Regions from separate parts of the Homo sapiens genome. Here region 1 is linked to region 2. The links are contacts of gene promoters, found by promoter capture Hi-C in blood cells and fetal thymus (Javierre and others, 2016). All regions are on one chromosome and are shown on one strand. The core of a region is centred on a gene start or on the middle of the fragment in contact, and the rest is flanking DNA. Distances in the headings are between cores, read along the strand shown.

Region 1 (7,198 bases), core at 4,699-7,198, 100 kb after region 2:
GGACTGGCCTGAGGATCCCGCAGGCAGGAGGGACCCCGCGGGCCTTTCCCTACCTGGGAGGTGCACGGTTGGCCACCAGGGCGCGCTGCTGGACTCTCCCCAGAAATCGGGCGGAGGTTTAGGCCTCAGAGTCACTTAAACTTGTAACCCTACCGGTAGCCGTGGAGTCTAGTAAATGTGGGGTCGGCTGGGGTTCGCCAGTCATCCCATGCTGCTGAGGGGCAGGCATGGGGCCCGTTGGCCACAGGAGACCTCCAGGCTTCTCTCCCACTCTTCTGCCTGCACCCCCTCTCGGGTAGAGGCTGCACCTCCTGCTTGGGTTCAGCCACCTTCAAATACTGCATCAATGGCTCGTGCCTCTGCCTGCGGGGCTGGGCCAGCGCGGGAGAGGCAGGCGGAGGGTTCAGGGAGCTGGGGATCTGCGGTATGTCCTGACCCCACACACTTTGTGTGTGCCATAAAGCCACAGCCTTTCCTTCCCACCCAGCCCCGTCTGAATGAGAAAGCATCACCTCTGCTTTCTGTTTGATCCGGCAGTTCTCAGCCAGGCTGGAGGCGGCCTGGAATCCCAGATCGTCTACTGACACCCCTAGTTTCCCTCGCCGCTCCTCTGGAGGACGTCCTTAACCCCTGATGCTGCACCACAGGCAGAGCTGCCAGAACCCCACCACCACCAAGATTGCTACCTGGAGATTCCTGCTTGTCCCCCCAACCCCAGGTCAAACCCCTGCATGCATCCATGGCCCAGCTCCCGTGTTCTGGGGCCATCTTTATAACCTGCTGTGCATTCCTGCCAGATTGAACTCATTGCCTCCCCCACTTGACCTCATTCTCTCTTTGTGCACTTGCTTTCTTTTCTTTGCTTTTTCTTTGTCTTTTTTTTTTTTTTTGAGACGGAGTCTCGCTCTGTCGCCCAGGCTGGAGTGCAGTGGCGCCACCTCGGATCACTGCAAGCTCCGCCTCCCGGGTTCACGCCATTCTCCTGCCTCAGCCTCCCGAGTAGCTGGGACTACAGGCGCCCGCCACCACGCCCAGCTAATTTTTTGTATTTTTAGAGACGGGGTTTCACCGTGTTAGCCAGGATGGTCTCGATCTCCTGACCTCGTGATCCACCCGCCTCGGCCTCCCAAAGTGCTGGAATTACAGGCGTGAGCCACTGCGCCTGGCCTCTTTGTGCACTTTCTTTGTATTTAGGGAAACAGCAACAGTAAACCCCAAATGACAAAGGTCATTACAGGGACCTTTTTTGCAGCCAATGATGTTTGTGTTCCCCGGTGCACTGCTCTGAAGCTTTCCCACGCATTCGGGCTCAGGTCTCTCTCCGGCATGTCTGCTGCCTTGTTTACTCCCCGCTTAGCGTGTGTTTATAGGATCACATTACACGAAATATTCCAGCCTTGTGAAGTAGCATTTCTTGCTGATAATGAAAACAAAAGACACAAAGAATTCTAAGAAATGCCTACAGTGCTTGGCACGTGAGGGCCTCTTGGCCTAGGGCCAAGTTTGTCTACTATCAGCCCCCACGGTGTCTGGAAAGTCTTGGATTGTTGTTGGCTCTTTGGATCCTGTGGTTTCACCCTGCAGCGTTTTGTAGGCAGTGTGGTGTCCTGGGTAGACCCAGGTCTTGGGGTTGACTGGACTGGTCAGATACAACTTGGTGACTTGCTAGCTGTGTGTCCTTGGGCAAGTTACTTAATTTTCCTGAGCCTCAGTTTTCTCATCCATAAAATGAGGGAAGAAAGAAATAATTCAAAGAGATGTTTTGAGAATTTGGTGAGGAGGTATATATAGTAGACAAGTCATAGACACTCAGTAAGTATTGGCTGGGATTATTAGCAAAAGCAAATAAGCCCCTTCTTTAAAGGGAACATAGCTTTTTTCTAAACCCCACTGTCATACTTAAATTGGTGATCAAGAAGTTATGTTTCTCAAGACACCCAGGAGCAGAGGCCAGGGAGAAGGATGTTCCAGGGCACAGGGGAGACCTGGACTGCCACGTGCACTTAGGGATGACCTGCACCTTCAGACGAACAGCAGGAAAAAAGACTCTTTTCCACTTCTCCTGGTTTGAGGTGGAGTTGGGCCCCCTGTCTGAGTAGGGTGAGGTGGCTGGCAGAGAGCTGGATGCCCCTTCCAATAGCTGGCCAAAGGTAGCAGAGGCAGGATTGTTCTCAAAGGAATTAGGTAAAAGCCCCGCAGCCAAGTGTGAGATCAAATCTCAGAAAATATCAGTACTGGGCTGGGCATGGTGGCACCGTGGCCAGTCTTAGCTGGACAGTTTTAAACTTTCTTTTCTCGGGGCTTTTTTTTTTTTTTTTTTTTTGAGAAAACAAGAAGATTGGTTACTCTAATTAAATATAATAATGAGAGTAGATGGTTAATTGTACTGGATACACTAATGCAGAGAGATACAGGTATGTGTACAGAATAAGGTATGATTTTCTGTTTATTTAGAAAAGTTACTACAGTTTATTCAAAATACATTTAATATACACATATTTTATTCAATTATATTTTAAGGCTATAGTTAAAAGCTTTAAAGTAATTTTTGCTATTGAGTTGTGGGAGTTCTATATGTATTTTGGATGTTAGCTAACCTCTTCTCAGATATGTGGTTTGCAAATATTTTCTCCAATTCCATAGACTGCCTTTTCACTGTTGTTTCTTTTGCTGTGCAGAAGGTTTTTAGTTTGATGTGGTTCCATTCGTCTATTTTTGCTTTTGTTGCCTGTGCTTTTGATATATAAAAGAAATCATCGCTTAGACCAATGTCATGAAGACTTTCTCCTATGTTTTCTTCTAGGAGTCTTATAGGTTTAGGTGTTATATTTAAATCTTTAATCCATTGTGAGCTCATTTTTGAGTGTGGTGTAAGACAGGGGTCCAATTTTATTCTTTTGTATGTCCATATTCAGTTTTCCCAAAACCATTTGTTAAAGAGGCCATCGTTTGTCCATTGTGTATTCTTGGCACCCTGTTGAAGATCAGTTGATTATATACACTTAGGTTATTTCTGGGCTGTCTGTTCTGTTCCATTGGTCCTTGTGTCTGTTTATATGACAGTACCATACTGTTTTAATTACTATAGCTTTGTAATATATTTTGGAATCAGGAAGTTGATGCCTCCAGCTTTGTTCTTCTTTCTCAAGATTGTGTTGGTTATTTGGGATCTTTTGTGGTTCCATATGAATTTTAGGATTATTTTTTCCTATTTCTGTAAAAAAATGCCATTAGAGGCTGGGTGTGGTGGCTCATGCCTGTCATCCCAGCACTTTGGGAAGCCAAGATGGGTGGATCACCTGAGGTCAGGAGTTCGAGACCAGCCTGGCCAACATGGTAAAACCCCGTCTCTACTAAAAATATAAAAATTAGGCAGGCATGGTGGCGGGTGCCTGTAATCCCAGCTACTCGGGAGGCTGAGGCAGGAGAACTGCTTGAACCCAGGAGGCAGAGGTTGCAGTGAGCTGAGATCGCACCACTGCACTCCAGCCTGGGCAAGAGAGTGAGACTTTGTCTCAAAAAAAAAAAAAAAATGCCATTAGATTTTGATAGGGATTACATTGAATCTGTAGATCAAAGTAGCGTGAACATTTAAACATTATTAGATCTTTCAATCTATAAACATGGGATGTTTTTCCATTTACTTGTGTCTTCTTTGATTTCTTTCATCAATATTATGTAGTTTTCTTTGATTTCTTTCATCAGTGTTACATACAAGTCTTTCATCTCCTTGGTTGAGTTTATTCCTAAGTATTTTATTCTTCTTGGTGCTATTGCAAATGGGATTGTTTTTTGTAATTTTCTTTTGGATACTTTGTTGTTAGTGTACCAAAACATAACTAACTTTTGTATGTTGATCTTGTATCCTGCAACTTTATGGAATTTGTTTATTCATTCTAAGTTTTTTTTTGTGTGTGGAGTCTTTAGGGTTTTCTACATATAAGATTATGTCATCTGCAAACAGAGATAGTGTTACTTAATCGTTTCCAATTTGTATGACTTTTAAATTTCTTTTCCTTGCCTAATTGCTCCGTTAGGACTTCCAGTACTATGTTGACTAGAAGTGGCAAGAGCGGGTATTCTTTGCCTTGTTCCTGATCTTACAGACAAAGCTTTCAGTTTTTCATTGTTGAGTATAATGTTAGCTGTGAGCTTGTCATATATGGTCTTTATTTTGTCAAGGAAAATTCCTTTTATACCTAGTTTGTTGAGAGTTTTTACTATGAAAAGATGTTGAATTTTGTCAAATGCTTTTTCTGCATCTATTGAGATGATCATTTGATGTTTATCCTTCATTTTGTTAACGTGGTGTGTCACATTAATTGTTTTACATATGATGAGCCATCCTTGCAAAGGACTTGAATAGACATTTCTCAAAAGAAAGCATACAAATGGCCAACAGGTATATGAAAAGATGCTCAACATCACTAATCATAAGAGAAATGCAAATCAAAACCACAATGAAATATCACTTCACACCTGTTAGAGTGGCTATTGTCAAAAAAAAAAAAAAAAAAAAAAAAAAAAAAGGTAAAGAAAGTGAGACAAGCTCCCAACTGGTAACAAGTGCTGTTGAGGAGAAATTGGAACTTTTGTACACGGTTGGTGGGAAAGTAAAATTGTGCAGCCACTGTGGAAAACAATATAGAGGTTCATAAAAGAATGAAAAATAGAACTACCAAATGATCCAGCAATCCCACTTCTGGGTATATATTCAAAAGAACTGAAGGATCCCAAAGAGATATTAGCAGTCCTTTGTTCATTGTAGCATTATTCACAATATCCAAGACATGAAAATGACCTAACTATTCATCAACAGATGAATGAATAAAGAAAATTTGGTATGTACATTCAGTGAAATATTAATCAGTCTTAAAAAGAAGGAAATTCTGCAATATATAACACTATGGATGAACCTGGAGGACATTATGCTAAGTGAAATTAGCTCGTCACAGAAGAACAAATACTGCATGATTCCACTGACATGGGGTATCCAAAATAGGCCAACTCATAGAAACAAAGTAGAATGACGGTTTTCAGGGGATCGGGAGAGGAGGAAATTAAAACCAATCCAACTGTCCAGAGACAGTTTTTGTTTTGTTTTGTTTTGTTTTGTTTTGAGACGGAGTCTCGCTCTGTCGCTCACGCTGGAGTGCAGTGGCGCGATCTCGGCTCACTGCAAGCTCCGCCTCCCGGGTTCACGCCATTCTCCTGCCCCAGCCTCCCAAGTAGCTGGGACTACAGGCGCCCGCCACCACGCCCGGCTAATTTTTCGTGCTTTTAGTAGAGACGGGGTTTCACCGTGTTAGCCAGGATGGTCTCGATCTCCTGATCTCGTGATCCGCCCGCCTCGGCCTCCCAAAGTGCTGGGATTACAGGCGTGAGCCACCGCGCCTGGACATAGACAGTTTTTAAAAAATAAACTTAAAGCTTGAAACTCACCAGATCCAGACAATTAAATACCAGGCCTCTCAGAAGGTATCAAAGAACGGAAACTCACCAGATCATCACATCCAGACAATGAGATGCCAGGCCCCTCATTCATCATGATTGCTTCCTTAGCCCTTCAGAATTCCTGTTTTCCCATACATTGTTACATTTTTTTCTCTGCTATATAAACCCCTAATTTTAGCCAGTCAGGGAGATGGATTTGAGACTGATCTCTCATCTCCCCTACTGCAGCACTCTATTAAAGCCTTCTTCCTTGGCAGTAATCATCTCAGCCGTTGGCTATCTGTGCAGCAAACAGCAGGACTCAGACTGAATCCCTGGTGTTTCGGTAACAAAATGGAGAGTTGCTATTCAAGAGGTATAAAGTTTCAGTTATACAAGATAAACATATTCTAGATATCTGCTATACAACACCGTGCTCATAGTTAACAATACTGTGTACCTGTTTACTTAAAAATTTGTTAAGAGAGTATGCGGCAGGAGAATAGGGTCTGGAGGCAGGGAACCTAAGGCTGATTCACACTGAATTTCTAGAGCTAAATCGAAAGGAAAATCCCAACTTTCCATGCCTAAGTAACAAAAGGACCAGAAGCTACTCCCTTTGCAAACCCCCTGCTTTTCTGCTCTGCAGATGGAAAATGGACAGTTCCTCTGATTGGTTGCTTTCTGCAGCCAATCAGATATTTGCATAGAAGTGTAACTTTGTAACTTCACTTCAGCCTCTGATTGTGGACCACTATTCATTTGCATGGGGTGAACACCAAGTGGCCAATGGCAAACTTCTAGGAGGTATTTGGACCCCAAAAGATTCTGAATCCGGGCTCTTGAGCCCCTATGCTTGGCCTGCTCCCACCCTGTGGAGTGTACTTTCATTTTCAATAAATGAAAATTTGTTTGCTCCTTGTTTTGTTTGTGCGTTCTGTCCAGTTCTTTGTTCAAAATGCGAAGAACCTGAACGCCCTCCACTGGTAACAAGCAGATCTCATTTTAAGTGTTTTTATTACAACTTAAAAAAGAAAGCTTTAATTTGTTACCTATTTGTATATTTATATATCTGTGTATGCCTAAATGCATACAAATAAAGGAATATTAATAGAGCCTTTATTATAATCTATTAGAAAATTATGTACCAAAGGAGTAAAATTAGGATTTGGCTCTGTCATGTAAAATGACTCAGTTGTTTTGCACCCAGATTACTAGAGGTTATTTTTTTTCACCAAATTATTCTGTTAACTCTCAGTGTTTTTCACATGCTCTTAAAACATCTTGTTAGAAATTCCCTTGGATAGCCCTGACCTGATTTTATTTGTTCATATTTTAAAATGCTATCACAGACCTAAATTCACCCTTAAAGTAGAGACCACTCCAGAAATTAAATCAGCTCCAATGACTGAAATAATTGCCTGCATCTGGGTCTGCTGGCTGCTAAAGTGTAAAAGAGTAAGCATATACACTAATGGCAGATGCACTTTTGGGGAGTCTGTGAATTGGGAATGCTTTGGAAATGAAGAGTTTTCTAACCTCCACAAAAATCTGCAAAAATTGGATGACGGATTAAAAATAAAACTTTCAGCTGCTTTGCTGTTACCTGAGGAAATAGCTGTAATAAAAGTAGACCACCATTCAATGCACAAAGACCCAGAATTTCTAGTAATACTTTAGCTGGCCACCATGCTAACCCCAGTAGCGTCACCAAGATCAATGCTCCTGCAAATCACACAGAAAAGAGGGGTCTTGGAGGATTCAA
Region 2 (6,907 bases), core at 898-3,397:
AAGGAGGAAAGGCGAGTGTACGTGGTGGGAGGAGGAAGGGGAGGGCATTAAACATTGCCTGGCAGCCATTTTGTTAATTTATTTTGCCTTTTCCTTTGACTTTGCCCTCCAGCCCTTCCTTCACATACATCAAAGAAGAAAGTTTTAAGAGCAAGGGTATCTTTAATTCAGGCTGAAATTTCCTGACACTGTGATCTCACTGGTGTTTATTACAGAGTTTGACATACATGGGTTCATTTGCCATTTATTTTTCCCTGTAGGAGTGGATCATGAAGGAAATAAAAATTTCTCTTTTATTATGCTGAGAACTTTCCCAACAATTTCTGCTATGACCACCTTCCAGGAGTTTTCTAGTCACCAGATGCCTTGGTAAAGTTCAATACGTAATCTTTGGCTCTGAAAGCTGTTCCTGGACAAAATCTGAGCTAACTCACTGAAGAATCAACAGATTGAGGCAACCATCCGGTCAGTTACTTTTTCCTGCATCCTGCTGGTGTTGGGGTAACTCCCAATCCTAGATGAAAACCTTAGACTTTCTGTTGTCAGGTGTCCCCAGGCAATATCCTACGGGGGCATGATAGAAAAGGGTAACTCTGGGGTCAGATAGATGTACTTACTCACTGTGTGAAGTTGGGAAAGCTGCTTAATTTCTCTGAGCCTACTTCCTCACCTGTAAAAATGGGGATCATTATTACCTACCTCACAGGGTTGTTGTGAGGATTAAGAGATGGGATGTGGGAGCACCTAGCCGTATCTGGCAAATAGGTACTCAATAAATACTGGTTTTACTTCCCTTTCCTCTTGCCCTTTTTCCCCAAAAGTATTGATAATGGAAAAGCAGTCCCTTTCATTCTTAACAGTCATTTGGGAATGACTGGGGGACTTTTCAAACCTTGAAGAATTGGCATTGCTAAGAGTTAAGGTGGACGAGGCTTTTTAAGGTGGCTCTAATCCTCTAATTAAATCCTTCTAATTAATGAATCATCACTATATAAACCTCTCTGTTGGGACCTTACTTTCTCAAGTTCAGATTCTATTAGAGAAATAAATTTACAATCACAGGGAAAGGTTTTAGGGACTGAGTTCCCTTCGCTAGAACGTATAGTAATTGTGGGCTTATTTGCCTGAAAAGTTGATTTAGGACTACCTTCACGCAGTATCCAGGGTTATTAGTGAAAGATGCTATCTGCCTGGGACTTTCACAGTGGACTTAAGTTTCAGGTGATACTAGGGCTGAGAGGCAAATTTTACTAGAACCTCTCCTTTTGCATGTTATCGCAACAGGAAATTTTAGTAGGAGATTCACAGGATGCACTGGTTTGTTTCGGGGTGTGGAATTGAAGTTGACTTATCTTGGTTTTAGTTCTAAGACCCTAAGGTAGGAAGATCTGAATTATACTGGAGAGAAGGGCAGCATGGAAATTTTATGGAGGAACTACAGGCTTACCTTTCAGGTTATCGAGTATCTGCTAGCGATTTCAAGTGGCCTTTTGCCAATATAGGAGTTAAGCAAATCTCAAGCCCACAGAAATACGTGAATAGCAAAAGGACCAGGGGACATTTTGAGAGGAGTCAGTGGGCCAGAGACGGCAAAAAGTTATTGCTGAGGTCCTAAGCACAGTCGGTGTTACGATCTCAGATGTGAGACGTGAACGGCGCCCAGGCCGGATAGCTTGTTCCCATTCCATTGATCTGAGATAACCCCAACGGAGGCAGTGTCCCATACTTGGGTAGGGGTCCCGAGTCTCCACAGCCAGAGATCAAAGGAGTTTTCTGGCAGGCGAGAAATTACCAGCAGATATTCCCGCGCGGGATGTAGGCTTTAATTTAGAAATCTCCGCCCCAAAACTGGCATCTTGAACGCGGGAGGGCATTATGAGTTAGAGGCCCCGGTTTTTCTCCATTTATCCAAATCAGGTAGCCGAAAGGTAAATGAGGCTTCAAGTTGGGCGGCGGGCAGCGAACTTGACAGAACCTCGAAACTCTGCAGATCCGCCGCCCAACCCAGCCGCCAGCTCCCCGTGACTTCCGCTTTCGGTCTCAACTCCTCTCCCTGAGGAGAGTGGTTTAAACGGTGAAGGCTGCGGGGCGTCGCCGGAAGTGTCGTAAACGTCGGATATCCGGTTCTTCTGGGCGCTAAGGGAGCTGACGGAGAGGGCCACCGCCCAGCAATAGACGGTGCCTCAGCCTGCCGAGCCGCAGTTTCCGTGGTGTGAGTGAGTCCGGGCCCGTGTCCCCTCTCCCGCCGCCGCCATGGGCTGCACGTTGAGCGCCGAAGACAAGGCGGCAGTGGAGCGAAGCAAGATGATCGACCGCAACTTACGGGAGGACGGGGAAAAAGCGGCCAAAGAAGTGAAGCTGCTGCTACTCGGTGAGGGGCTGGAGGCGGGGACTGAGTGGTGGTCGGGAGAGCCTAGGCGCTTGGAAGGCCTGAACGGGGTCTGGTCGGGCCGACGGAAAGGACCCTAAAGGGATCTGGAGGGCGTGCCGGGCGTGGGGCGGGGTGTTGGGGTTCCTAGCTGAGGCCCCAGAGGGCGTGATGAGGGGGGTGGGGTTTTGGGGTTGCGGGAATTAGGCTGTAGAGGGTGTGACTCCGGGCTAGAATTGCGTTTAGCAGAGAGACTTGGGAGTATGGGCCGGTAGATGTTGAGGGAGTAGGAATATGGGAAAAGCTCATAAAGGAAGAGTTGATACTAGGAAGGTTTTACGTTGGGTTGGAGCGTGTTGGTAACGAGAACGGCATAGAGTATATGTTGGGCTTGTATAATGGTTTGTGAGTTTGGAGCGTCGTGGTTCTTTGGCAGGATAAAGCTAGCAGGCTTGAATGGATGGTACAGAGACTGGAACAGAATGGTCACATAAGGACGTTGACATTTGTTAGTAAGAGAGCCATTTGAACTGTTGGAAGAACCCTGGATTATCCAGGAACATGAAGATAGGTAGGTGAGATAAATGACAAGTTATCAGGTATAAAGGAAAAGAGCTTGGGTGCAGAGGCCATCTCTACTTTTCCACCGTTTCCTATCATTTTTATTTTCAAAGTTTTATAACGTCTTCTTCTGTTTTTACAAAAGGATGGGAAATGGTGTGAGCTGAAGAAATTTAAAGAATGATTTCTTTGAGGTTTGTAGCAGAAGATCTAGTGAACAAGAGATTACACATTGGAGGATGCTGAATAGTTGCTATAGATGATGTGTAGTTGGAATAGTTACCTTAGGATAAGTTACAGAGTTGGACATATTCACTGTAAAGACTATGGTAGACTTCTGGTGGCTGTTTTATCCTTTTTGGCCTCTTCAAAGCAAAACCATTGACTTCAGGAATTACTGTTTATGTTATTTGATAGTCGTTTTAATTGGCTTTTTTTAAACACAGTCGGATGTATTTTACTCAACATGAGTTTCAAAATTTTTGAGAGGCTCAGTAAATCATACAAAGAATACTGGCATTAGCTTACTAATAAATCAAGCCACATTTCTTCATTATTAGTGAAGATTTTCTAGGGTAGTATTTCCATTATTTTCCAATATTTTCTAGGGTAGTATTTCCATTAGAGAAGAATAAGTAGGAGTAGGGGTTTCTACAGAAACCCTTACAAGCAATAGAAATTTACTTTTTAAAACAATTGATTTTTGAGGAAAAGGAGTCACTTTAGGGGAAATGCTAAATTTTCATGGTATAAAGCTCCAGAGAACAGAATGTACACTGTAACCCAAGACTTATTTTGTACATTCTAAGTGCCCCTGTTAGTCTCTTCGTGTGAACATATTTGGTTGGTTGTAGATTGCAGAAGCTCTGGTAATAGCTTTTTTGAATATACTATAAAGGGAAAGTTATGTATTGGAGCTTAAGGTTCCGGTTTGTATACCTGAACTTTCAGAAGATGCGAGTTCAAATTGTAGTTCTAGACTGCGACTGTCTGTATAACAGGTGGATATGCATGGTCCCTGGTACCTAGTAGGTGCTCCTTAAATATTTACTGTTAACCAGCCTGAGCCAGCAAATGTTGAACACTGGTCCTTGGGGCCTTTGAGAAATTTGATATAAACTATAACATTCAGGGCGTTAACTTTTTTTTTTTTTTGAGACGGAGTCTCCCTCTGTTGCCTAGGCTGGAGTGCAGTGGCGCGATCTCGTCTCACTGCAACCTCCACCTCTCGGGTTCACGCCATTCTCCTGCCTCAGCCTCCCAAGTAGCTGGGACTACAGGCGCCCGCCACCACGCCTGGCTAATTTTTTGTATTTTTAGTAGAGACGGGGTTTCACCGTGTTAGCCAGGATGGTCTCAATCTCCTGACCTTGTGATCCACCCGCCTTGGCCTCCCAAAGTGCTGGGATTATAGGCGTGAGGCCACCGTGCCTGGCCAGCATTTTCTTTATTGATCGATTGGTTATGAAAGTAAAGATGTATTCTCATCTTCTGTGAGTGATTTGATTTACACTGACCAACAGAGATACCCTTAGGACATCAGTTTATTGTAATGTAGTTGGAAACTTTGAGACTTTCTTCCAAAATGCAGGATTAGGCAGGCAGAATTTGGATAGGCGGAACTTGTCCAGATGTCTAGAAGAATTTTTGTTCAGGATTTTATCTGTAGTGCATTTAATTAAAAACAAAATTAGACACTTGACTTAGGGAACTTGAAAAGCAGTAAGTAAAAATCAAAGTACTAAACATATTTGCTTTTAATTTTTACCAACTTCATTCTTTTTTAAGTAAGATTTTTAAAATATTCTTGAGCAAGTTAAATCCACAAATTCAAATAGGTTGCAGAAACATATGTTCTTGCTTGAGCCATATCATAACACACATAGGAAATTAAAATTATCTTCTATGCTATTTCTATAAGCAAAATGTACCCAAAACAGTATACAGTTTTCTTTTTCCTGGATAATGTCTCCTTTGCTGTAGATGCAAGTCATTTTTACTTTATCACTATGGAACTTAGTTTAAGTTGAGATCTATCTACTTACCCTGTGTCTCCTGACACATGATATATTTTCTTTCTTATGGGGGTGTAGTTTAACATGGTGATTAATAGCATGGGTCCTGAAGTCAGACTGCTTTAAATCCTAATTCCCATTTACTAGTTATAGCCTTGGGAAAGTTAATTTCTCTTGGCCTCAGTTTTCTTATCTTTAAAATGGAGAAAATAGAGCTACTCCTAGGATTGCTGTGAGGATTAAATATGGTAATAATGTAAAGCAGAACACAGCTTGGCACATAGTACTAGCTCCATGAAGATTAGCTATTCTTATTAAGTCAAAATGAATGTTACAGATTGTAGGTATTATGGAAATTATACCAAATTAAGCAGCTAGTGTGGGCCAGATTATTTACAGACACTTCAGTATTGTAATTCTTCCTTTGATAACCTTTGGTTTGAATTTCATTTAGATGTTCTTGGAAAGGGCTGGGCGTGGTGGCTCCTGGCTGTAATCCCATCACTTTGGGAGGCCGAGGCTGGTGGATCACCTGAGGTCAGGAGTTCGAGACCAGCCTGGCCAACATGGCGAAACCCCATCTCTACTAAAAGTACAAAAATTAGCCGGGCGTGGTGGTGTGCACCTGTAGTCCCAGCTACTTGGGAGGCTGAGGCAGGAGAATCGCTTGAACCCGGGAGGTGGAGGTTGCAGTGAGCAGAGATGACGCCACTGCACTCTAGCCTGGGTGACAAAGTGAGACTCTTTGTCTCAAAAAAAAAAAAAATAAAGTGTTCTTGGGAAGATCTTGGTATATCAAATTAGTGTTTAATTATGACATTCTATTGAAAAAATACCATGCAAAGCTTCCCAACCAATGTTCCAGTGCTTAGGATGGCATATAGGTGTGCTGTTTACAAATTTTTTATAGCATTGAAATTTTAAATCATTTTTATAAGTTCAAACTTTTACAACAGTTGAAATTACATTTGAACATCTTTGGTATGATTTCCTCTTGTATAATTCATGAATTTGGTAATTTGGTTATTTACTATTTAAACAATTAGAGATGGGGGTCTCATTATGTTGCCCAGGCTGGTCTCAAATGCTTGGCCTCATGTGATTCTCCCATCTCAGCCTCCCAAAGTGCTGGGATTACCAGTGTGAGCCACTGTGCCTACCCTACCATGAATTTGGTAATTTGAAAAAATTTTATTTGGTATAAATACTAAATTTATACCAATTTAATATTTAATATCATTTGTAATACTTTGTATTTTTTTCATGCCATAATTTCATAATAAGAAATTTTGTGTGTGCGGGTTTTGTTTTTGTTTTTTTTTGACCCCAGGGCAAGCAAGAAAATTTTTTTTCACCAAGCTCTTTCAGCTCACCCCAATGAGCCTTACAAATATTTTTAATGTGTGCCATCATGTGACAAAGGTTGGGAAGCACTGGTATAATGGATAAGAGCACTGCTTTTGGATTCACACAAAACTGAATTTAAGTTCTACCTCCACTTATTAGCTCTGAGACCCAGAGCAAGTAACTTAACCATAAGAATAATAATTTTTACATATGTAAAGCAGAGATGATGTTTCATAATATGAAATGAGATAATGCATGTAAAATGCTTCACATTAGTGCCTAGCAAATAAAAAATAGTAAGTGGTCACTTCTATTGATGATGATGATCGTGAGAATTACCATTTTAGCTACTTTTTTCAGAGGTTTTTCAGACAGCTGTTTTATTATTTTTCATATTAATATACTATTTTCAAAGATCTTCAAAGAATTTTAATATCCTTTTGTGGTGAAAGGAATTAAATGTTAGTCCTTTTTTTTTACTCATCACTGTACTAATGAAGATACTTAGTTTTGTAAATTATTGAATTATCTGCTCTCTGTATTTCTGTTTCTTGATAGTTTCCTTTAGCAGGTTCTGAGAAAACATAAAAAAAAACTTTGTTCTTTGGGATTTGCT

What was found. The method cuts DNA at HindIII sites, captures the fragments that hold promoters and counts their contacts. A CHiCAGO score of 5 or more calls a contact.
Region 1: a contact is called between a fragment that was not itself captured here and the fragment with the promoter of GNAI3 in region 2, in 17 of 17 cell types (M2 macrophages, M1 macrophages, megakaryocytes and 14 more). The highest score is 42.7, in M2 macrophages.

The regions. Positions count from the first base shown.
Region 1 is chr1:109,643,430-109,650,627 of GRCh38, forward strand. No RefSeq gene overlaps it. Among named protein-coding and RNA genes, the nearest start is that of GSTM4, 9.1 kb to the right of the region's middle. RefSeq lists enhancers at 1-252, 627-1,500. The HindIII fragment of the contact is 1,041 bases long and covers 5,429-6,469 here.
Region 2 is chr1:109,546,468-109,553,374 of GRCh38, forward strand. It overlaps GNAI3 (G protein subunit alpha i3), which reads left to right and starts at 2,148. Exons shown (of 9, transcript NM_006496.4): 1 at 2,148-2,371. The coding sequence starts at 2,254. It overlaps GPR61 (G protein-coupled receptor 61), which reads left to right. Exons shown (of 2, transcript NM_001393907.1): 2 at 1-793. RefSeq lists a silencer at 1-160 and enhancers at 1,675-1,734, 2,265-2,434. The HindIII fragment of the contact is 6,158 bases long and covers 1-5,787 here.